Regions from separate parts of the Homo sapiens genome. Here region 1 is linked to region 2. Evidence: promoter capture Hi-C in human tissues and cell types (Jung and others, 2019). All regions are on one chromosome and are shown on one strand. Each heading gives the region's core, a stretch centred on a gene start or on the middle of the fragment in contact. The rest is flanking DNA. Distances are from core to core; before and after follow the strand shown.

Region 1 (4,433 bases), core at 1,213-3,712, 65 kb after region 2:
AGCTATGATCATGCCACTGTACCTCAGCCTGGGCAACAGATTGAAAACCTGTATTAAAAAAATAATAATAAGAGAGAGAGAGAGCAGGGCCCTATAATCTACCGAGCATCCACTATGCTTGGCACTGTACTAAGTATGCTAACCTGTTTGCATGTGAGTTCGCTGAGGCTCAGAGAGATGAAGTAGCTTTCCAGAGTCACACAGCCTGTCAGTGCCATAGCTAGGCTGCAAACTCCGGTTTGCCTGACTCCAAAGTCCATATTGTCGTGTTTCCCCAGTGCTGAGCGCCATCACACAGGACCCTCGGAGATTCTGCTCCTGTCCTTCTTGTACATTTGAGGGGCGTAAGCTACAGAGCCCTGAAATGGCAAGAGCAGGATCAGAACTCAGGTTTTCTGTTCCTGCGTGTTCAAGGCTCCCTTCAGAGCTAGCTTGCTTTGGGTCTTGTTCTGAAAGCGGGGATCTCCCACAGTCTCTTCCTCCAGGGCCATACTAGTGCTCCTCTCCCCCTCCCAATCTCGGGGCTGCCCGTCCTTATTGCTCAAACAACAAAACTGTGCTGGCTTGACCCTCAAACATACCATGAGGTGAAAGTGGACTGACCTCTCTCTCTCAGCTAGAGCAGAGGAGGGGCTGTCACTGGTGTGTCATCCCGTAGGCCCGGGCTCATGGAGCCACCTCCTAGGAGAAGCTTTGGGAAAGCAAAAGTCACCTCCCTCCCACCCTTGATCCTGAAGCTGCCTGCTGTGCTCCGTGAGGACGGGGTGTCAGGAAACCCAGCTGAGGGGGATCTGATCAGGCGTCTCGGGCACTGGCTGGCAGCTGAGTTTATGTGGGGAGTGGGAGTCATTGTTGCCAGATCACTTCACGAACATGTCCTGTCCCCACAGGCTTAGCAATAAGGCCCCTTGCATTTAAACCTCACCACTTCCAGTTGCTAGTACTTAGACTTTCTGAGCCTCAGTTTCCAATGATCCTGGCAAGATTACTCTAAGTTCCCTTGCTCTTTCCGAGCCTTTCTTCCAGATGGCAATATGATGTTGGGTGGATAGAATGAGATGTGTGTAAAGTACCCAGCATAGTGCTTGACAAAGCGTAACTTACCAGGAAGAGGTGGTTCCCCTTCCTTCTCTCCTTTTGGCCTACAGATCCACAACTGTCCTACAGCATAAGGCAGTGGTTAAATTGTGGAAGCTGGAGTCATACTACTTGGATTCAGATCTTCTCCCTGGTATTACTGTGTGACTGTAGGCTGTTACCTAACTTCTCTGTGCTTCGGTTCTTCCATCTGGGAAATGAGGATGAACTAGTACCTACCTCATAAAGGTTGTGATGAGGATCGAATGAGCTATTATTTACAGGGTATGTTGAGCCCTGCCAGGTACACAGTAAACTCTGTGGAGCTGGAGTTGAATGAATCAACCTATATGCTTCACCACTTTGCCTCACTTGCTTCTTAATCCAGGACCTTTGCAATGAGCTCAGAGCAGTCTAAGTAGAAGAAAAGGTTTAAATTGTCATCTTCCCAGTCACTTGCTGGAGCAGAGCTGTGACAGGCTAGGAAAACCCGGTGCACCGTGGCCAAGCATCAAGAGCCTCAGAGCCTGCTAATGGGGATGGGGGCTTATTTTCTCTTCCTACTTCTCTGATCACAGAAGACTGTGTTGGTCATGCCCTGATCTACAGGATCCCACACACTAAACCCATGGACTCTGATGTCAGCCTCAACTAGGAAAAGAGGAAGTGGATTGCTACAATGCCATAATTGAGCAAATTAGAAGGATGCCTTTATAGAGCAGTGGATCTCAGCGCCGTCAGCACATTAGAATTCTCCAGGGAATGTATAATTATATACGAATAGTCAGGCCACATCCAGGTTTTAAATAAAATACCTGATTATCAGATACTGTGAGCATCATGGGGCCTTTCTCCTCTAAATCACAGGGAATGTGCCAGTGATTTACCATGATGATTTATGTCAGTGATTCTCAGCTTGAGCTGCATCAGAATCCCCTAGAGGGCCTGTTCAAACTCAGGCTGCAGGGCCCCATCCTGGAAGTTTCTGATTCCATAAGTCTGGGTTGGAGCCTGGGAATCTGCATTACAGCAAGTCCCCAGGTGATGTTGAGGCTGCTGGCTCTGGCACCACACACTGAGAAGCACGGATCCATACAATGAATAAAAGAGAAAAAAATAAGACACTGTCCACCAAGTCTTCTCAAAGAATATGCCTACTTCTTTTGGGGATTAAAAAAAAATGAGGCCGGGCGCCGTGACTCATACCTGTAATCCTAGCACTTTGGGAGGCCAAGGAGAGTTCAGGATTTCGAGACCAGCCTGGCCAGCATGGTGAAACCCCACCTTTACTAAAAATACAAAAATTAGCCAGGCATGGTGGCACGTGCCTGTAGTCCCAGCTACTTGAGCAGCTGAGGCAAGAAAAGCTCTTGAACCCGGGAGGTGGAGGTTGCAGTGAGCCAAGATCGCACCACTGCACTCCAGCCTGGGCAACAGAGTGAGACTCTGTCTCAAACGAAAAAAAAAAAATTGCCCATACTTATATTTTGAGCAATTGAAAAATGCCTGTCCCACTCTTTTCCATTTTTCTTCCCTCTCTCCTATCTCAGCCATGCACCCCTGTAACCTCCTGCCATTGAAATTCTCGGCACCTGTGTGTCACAGCGCATATCACGTGTAGGTCAACAGCTTTGCAGTGACAAACAAAGAAAAAGAAAAACTGACTGATGCTTGAAGCATTGTAGGTGAGAACACAGAATAGTCTTTGCTGCCTTTGGTGGCAGGTCACATGGATCAGCCCACACAGTGGAGTTTGAATTTCCTCTTCTTACAACAATTGAGTCACTGAATTGTTGAGCAGACAAATGACAGCGTGATCTGAAAAAAATGTTTCTGACTCTGTGTCTAAACCTCAATGTGGGAGCTTGTATTGTTGTAAGAAAAACGTAAGTATGGCTCATGCATCCAATGTACTTGATTTTGTGATAATTTTCAGTTATTTTTGCTCATCTAAGTACCTCTATGCGTCGATGAAGATGAAAAAATAAACTGACAATCTTTGGAAGAAGAAAATCTTACCTCACCATCTCCTCCAAGTCTCTTCTCCGAACATTCACAAGCTCATTCTGCTAATTCATTTCCATTCTTTGACTACATTAATGATCTGTGGTTTTCATGAGCTGTTTAACAGTGAAAACAACTTTTAGAAGAGATATACAAAATTCTTTTTGTAAGATGATCTTGAAAATGGTCAAGTTAGTAACAGAAAGTTCCATTTTCATCAAACTTGGTACAGGGACTCAACCTTCATACTTTTTGGGAGATTTCTCCAAATACACTGTTTTTGGCCCAGCTAAATAACTAGTCAATGTGATCAAGAAATCTTAGAACTGAAGAGACCACAGAGATCATTAAGTCCAAGTTCCCATTTTAAAAATGTGAAACCGCTGGGCGTGCTGTTTCACGCCTGTAATCCCAGCACTTTGGGAGGCTGAAGCAGGCAGATCACGAGGTCAGGAGTTTGAGATCAGCCTGGCCAATATGGTGAAACTCCGTCTCTACTAAAAATACAAAAATTAGCTGGGCATGGTGCCACGTGCCTGCAGTCCCAGCTACTCAGGAGGCTGAGGCAGGAGAATCGCTCGAACCCGGGAAGCAGAGGTTACGGTGAGCCGAGATCGTGCCACTGCACTCCAGCCTGGGCAACAAAGCGAGACTCCATCTCAGAAAAAAAAAAAAAAAAAGTGAAATCAAGGCACAGAGACATGAGCTTACCCCTAGTCACACAACCCATTTGAGAAACTTGACCACAGGTGAGTCCTTTCCTTCTCCTTATCTATCTCCCCCGACATGCCCACACACTCCACTTTAATGCATGCCCTTCATTGTCTGCATATGTCCAAAAACATAGTGCACCAATGCAGTCTTTTGCTAGTGGTTCAGTGGAATTGGTGCTCTCATTCTCATGGTTTAGGAATATAATTGTACTTTAATGGTTTATTTATTTTATTAATGTCTGTCATCTTCATTACAATGCAAGTTCCAAGACAGGGACCATATACATAAATAACTCGTTTATATTTCTGGCACCTCTGATAATGTTTGATCCAGTAGAGATGCTCATTATATAGCACTGTAGTCACTCCTGTAATCCCAGCACTTTGGGAAGCCAAGGCGGGCGGATCACGAGGTCAAGAAATTGAGACCATCCTGGCCAACATGGTGAAACCCCATCTCTACTAAAAATACAAAAATTAGCCGGGCATGGTGGCGGGCACCTGTAGTCCCAGCTGCTTGGGAGGCTGAGGCAGAAGAATTGCTTGAACACAGGAGGTGGAGGTTGCAGTGAGCTGATTGTGCCACTGCTCTCCAGCCTGGCAACAGAGGAAGACTCCGTCAAAACAAACAAACAAACA
Region 2 (4,742 bases), core at 1,324-3,823:
AATTCATCATTCCATGTATAAAATGATAGCTTCCTGCAAAGAGCATCCACAATTCTCTGCCTGGGGATTCTCTCAGCCCAAGTACATGGGACAGGATGGAAATGTCAAGGAGTTAACAATTCCAGGAACAGTTCTTGACCAATCAAGCATAGACTTTAGTGAATAAATACCTATGTCCTCACTCCTTGGGTGAGACAACTCTGAGACTTGTTCTACACTGTCTCTCAAATGTCCCCTGCGGGTTTGAGCTCCAATTGTCCACTGCGGTAATCTGCTTATTAATACATCTCATATTGGGTAGTATCAATTTTCTGTCTCACTTTCCTACTTCCCAGCCAGAGCTTCCTGGGATTACTTCCAAAATAAACGACGGGTGTTCAAATTCTTGTTTCAGGACAGAATCCAGCCTAAACACTGTATCTCACAATGTAAACAAGACAAACAATTTGGACAATTGGATTCACAATAAAATGTTCAATTCACTAACCAAGCCCTATTCAGGCTTCTTTTAGCCCTCTTCCTTCCATCCCATGGCCATTGCCTCAGTTGGGACCATTCTCATTTATTTTGTTTCTTTTTGGGGATTTTTTTTTTTTTTTGCCTGCACTTAGTCTCTAACTGATCTCGATGCTTCCAGTAACTCTATCATCTAATCCATCACCCACTTACTGTCAAAGTTATTATCCTAAAATGCAGTTCTGGTAATGCTCTCCCCATGTTTTTGTTTTTTAAGCCTTTATGGCACCAATTGCCTCTGTGATTATGTCTTAAATTTTATAACCTGGTATGTGAGAACTTTCAAAAGCTGGTCCCAATAAACCTTTCAGCCTCATCTCCAATGATTGCTAAATACAGCCAATGTTCTGCCTACATAGAACAAACCAGAATCTCAAAAGCCCTTTTACCTGTTACCTTTCTGTGTTATTTGAATGAGCTTGCGACCTTTTCTGCCAGAAGAACCTGCCTTATCCTTCAAGGTCTAGCCCAAATGTTCCCTCCTCCATGAGAACTTCTCCAACTCTCTGGACCAGTTTTTCAACAGGCTGCCTCTGTGCATATTCTACTATGTACCAATCATGTATTAAGCCCTGGGAAAACCACGCTGGATAAAAGTAGAAATAGCTCCTGCTCACATGAAGTTCACAGTTGGATAAAGGAAACAGATATTATCAGGTAAACATATAAAAGTTGGCTACAAAGGGACATAAGTGTCTATAGTCAGGGAGGACACCAATCTGGAGGTTGGAGTGCCTCCCAACAGGAATGGACCCTTGAGGTGAGAACGAAGTAGGAGTTAACACCAGATAAAGGAGATGGAACACATACCCCAGGCCAAGGGGACAGCAGGTGCAGAACCCTGTGGAAGGAGGGAAAATGGCAATCGTCTTTTTTTTTTTTTTTTTTTTTTTTAAGGAATAGAAGACAAGGGCATTTAAAGCAGTGAGGCACAGGAAGAATGAGGGGAGAGAAGAGGCAGCACTTACATCATTCATTGTACCACATTTGTTGACTGTGTCCTTCATGCCTCATGCTCTGAAATTGACCTTTTCCAATATAAGGACCATGTCTCACTGAAATCATGTCCACCCCAGCACTTCACACAATATAGAAAAAAAAATCAATGTACCCAATTTATAGATGAGTGTGTTGAGGCTCAGGAAGGTTGAATGAGTTGCCCAAGATCTCAAGGCTGGCAATGGCATAGCAACTATAATAGAATATAGACCTACTTCCTCACCTGCATCTCTTTCCTTAAACTGCCCCTAGGAAAACCACGTCCTTCCCCATTATTTTATTTCAGAAATTCCAAGTTTTTCTATGAGCTGTTTTTCTCAAAGAGCCTGATAACAAAACAAAACGCCAGTTACTACTCTGTGTATGTGCATGCATGTTGGGGAGCGGGTACACACTGGTCTTCCGGGGATCAGAACACGAACAGGATCCTTTCTGGTACAGGATTCTTGTCTGAAGCCTCTTTAATAGCCCGAAATGGTGTGGGTGGTGAGAATTCGCCGTCGTAAGGAAGCCCCTGGTGATACCCAGCAAAGAGCATCCCGGCTGACCCTGCAGGTCTGGAGTGAAAAGACCCTGCACTGGACTCTTCAGGGCAGTGAGCGGGATCTCTAGTTCCCTGCTTCCCAAACCTCTCCGCCCTTCCACCCAAAACTGGCTGTTTGAGAAACGACCCAATTTCCCGACTATCCCGCCCAGCCTCGAAGATGGGAGGGAGAGAGGGCAACCTTGTCGCGGTAAGGCATCCTCCAGGCCCAGACATTAGTCTCGGTCCATTTCAAGGCACCCGAGCCTGTGCCGTATATAACCAAGTACTGGGCCCACAGGAAGGGGGATGACAGGGTGGTCTCTCTAGGCTCGTTTTAGTCACAGATCTTCGGCAAATTTGGGTTTAGGGCCGCGATCCCGACCCTAACTTGGGACTATTTCAGGAACTGGAGTTGAGGCTTCGTTGGGACAGGAAAGAAGGGTGGGGCGGGGGTGAAGCGCTTAGGGCACGGCTCTTGTGAGGATTACGGCGGAGGCTGTGGACCGCGGCGGCGCTCGCAGAGGCTGCAGCCATTGCACAGCCGAGCATCCCACATTCAACAGGAGGAACCCGCGGGAGAGGAGCCCCACTCCCCCAGCGCCGCAGCCACCGCAGCCACCGCAGCCCGTGCGCCCCGCGCCCTCGAGCGCCATGGCCAAGGAAGGCGTGGAGAAGGCGGAGGAGACGGAGCAAATGATCGAGAAGGAGGCAGGCAAGGAGCCGGCGGAGGGCGGCGGCGGCGACGGCTCGCACCGCCTCGGGGACGCCCAGGAGATGCGCGCGGTGGTGCTGGCTGGCTTCGGGGGGCTCAACAAGCTGCGGCTCTTCAGGAAGGCCATGCCCGAGCCTCAGGACGGCGAGCTCAAGATCCGCGTCAAAGCCTGGTCCAGTATCCGCGCCTTTCTCGCTTTCTCTCTTTTTGCGCGCTGGGCGCTGGGGAGGGGGTGGGAAAGCTGCGGCTGGGATGCTGCCCGGGTAGAACCGCCGCGCGCACCCCCTCCGCGCCCTCACCCGGGTCTCAGAGCCTCCCCGGGCCAAAGCTGGGGAGGATGCAGAGGGGCGGCCTCCCCAAGCCAGATCTAGGGGTGACGGGAGGAGAATGTGAGCTCCTGGGCGCGGGGAGAATGCTGGCGCCCAGGCACCCCGGGTCTGGAAGATTGCGCTACGGGAGTTCTCCGTCTGAGAGGACAACTCAGCTTTCGCACGGGAGGGTTGATGCTTAACAGAATTAAAAATATATGTATTAAGAACCGCAAGCCCACTGTGTGCCAGCCGCCGTTGGTAGTTTTACACGTGCGATCTTATTTAATACTTCCTGGGACCTAATGAGTCAGGTGCCATCATGATCCGTTTACAGGTAAGAAAGCCGCCGCTCAGCGAGAATGAGTGATTTGCCCAAGATCAGTCAGCTGCCACTAAGTGGCTTGGCCGGGAATTTGATACATGATCTTTTTTCACCTCTATGCTGTTGTCCTGAAGGGCCTGGGACAGGGTGCAGGGCTGGATCCCGCCTCCTGCCCACTTCCTTCCCCGTAGCCTGACGGGGAAAGGAACTAGGAAGGAAGAGGGTCGGTACCTTGCACCCAGGCTTGGTGAGGGTGGAGACCAGGGCTGCAGCGCAACCCCCTCCATGCCCCTCTCCATCCTCTGTTTCTCCGAGAGGGGAAAAAACCCTGATCAGTCTCCCCGGAATTCCTGGTCCCATCTCAGAAGGAGCTCAGCTCTCTAAGCTGCCCTCTATTCCCCATTCCCCCTGGGGGAACTTCTCCAGGCCCTCACGCTCAGCTGAAATTCCCGGGGAGAGTTTAAGCCTCTCTGTGTGCGGGCACTGTAATTTCCCTGAAGTTCTGGGAAGAGCTTACCCAGCAGAGGCGGACTGGACCCAACACTAGGTTTGCATGTTAAACTTGTAAGGGGAACTTGCTATTAATCACGGTGAGACGAGCCTATTCCTTCCCATCTGTTTTCTAGAGCCCCCCAGTACATACTGCTCTCCAAAGCAGCAGCCAGCTCACGAGCTTCTAGGTTAGATCAGAAACCCAATATCTGGACCTCTCTAGAGGCACGAGAAATACAAACGAGGGTCCCCTCCCGTTCACCACCTTGAGAACAGACGCAGGTTTCATCGGCCAGATTAGAAAGCAGCTAGTGGGAGAAGCAGCCGCTGATCCCTGCCTTGCTGCTCATATATGCAGCTGGTCAGGTTTGACTCTGAACACGACTCGTGAGTCTCTGTGGGGAATTCCGGGTAAGGGAAGAGGCTTTTGCAAACCGGGGGATCCTGTACAATAAACTCTTATTGAACCAAGTTGTTTGATCCCAGAAGGAGAGCTTATATCTGCCCTTTCGCAGCTAAATCCCCAAAGACCAGCCCACTCCCCCACCCCACACTGTTTGGCCCACTGCACATCCTAAATAAGTTATCGCTGAATGAATGGATTGAGGAAAGAGCTCGGAGGAGGATTGTTGGGTCATTATTTTTCTTTACTTGCTGGTGGAAGAGCTTTTGCTTAGTACAATTAAAACCATGCATTTAGAACTCTCCTTCCTTAACCACTTCATCAAAAAAAATTACCTGTATACACACACCTATGCATATATGTGCATATACATATATACAATTATATATACAGTTGCATATGTATGCGTATGTAATTTATGACCCTTCATCCAAATTGAGGATGGGATTCTAGGATTCTAG

The links. Contacts are between HindIII fragments. The study calls those that stand out against the background at their distance.
Region 1: a contact is called between a fragment that was not itself captured here and the fragment with the promoter of VAT1L in region 2, in 5 of the 25 tissues and cell types used here (liver, mesenchymal stem cells, mesendoderm cells and 2 more).

What each region holds. Positions count from the first base shown.
Region 1 is chr16:77,851,598-77,856,030 of GRCh38, forward strand. The region is part of intron 3 of VAT1L (vesicle amine transport 1 like); the gene reads left to right. Among named protein-coding and RNA genes, the nearest start is that of VAT1L, 65 kb to the left of the region's middle. RefSeq lists an enhancer at 225-726. The HindIII fragment of the contact is 9,020 bases long and covers 1-4,433 here.
Region 2 is chr16:77,785,991-77,790,732 of GRCh38, forward strand. It overlaps VAT1L (vesicle amine transport 1 like), which reads left to right and starts at 2,574. Exons shown (of 9, transcript NM_020927.3): 1 at 2,574-2,925. The coding sequence starts at 2,693. All of the region lies in intron 1 of LOC107984878 (a long non-coding RNA gene), which reads right to left. The HindIII fragment of the contact is 13,812 bases long and covers 1-4,742 here.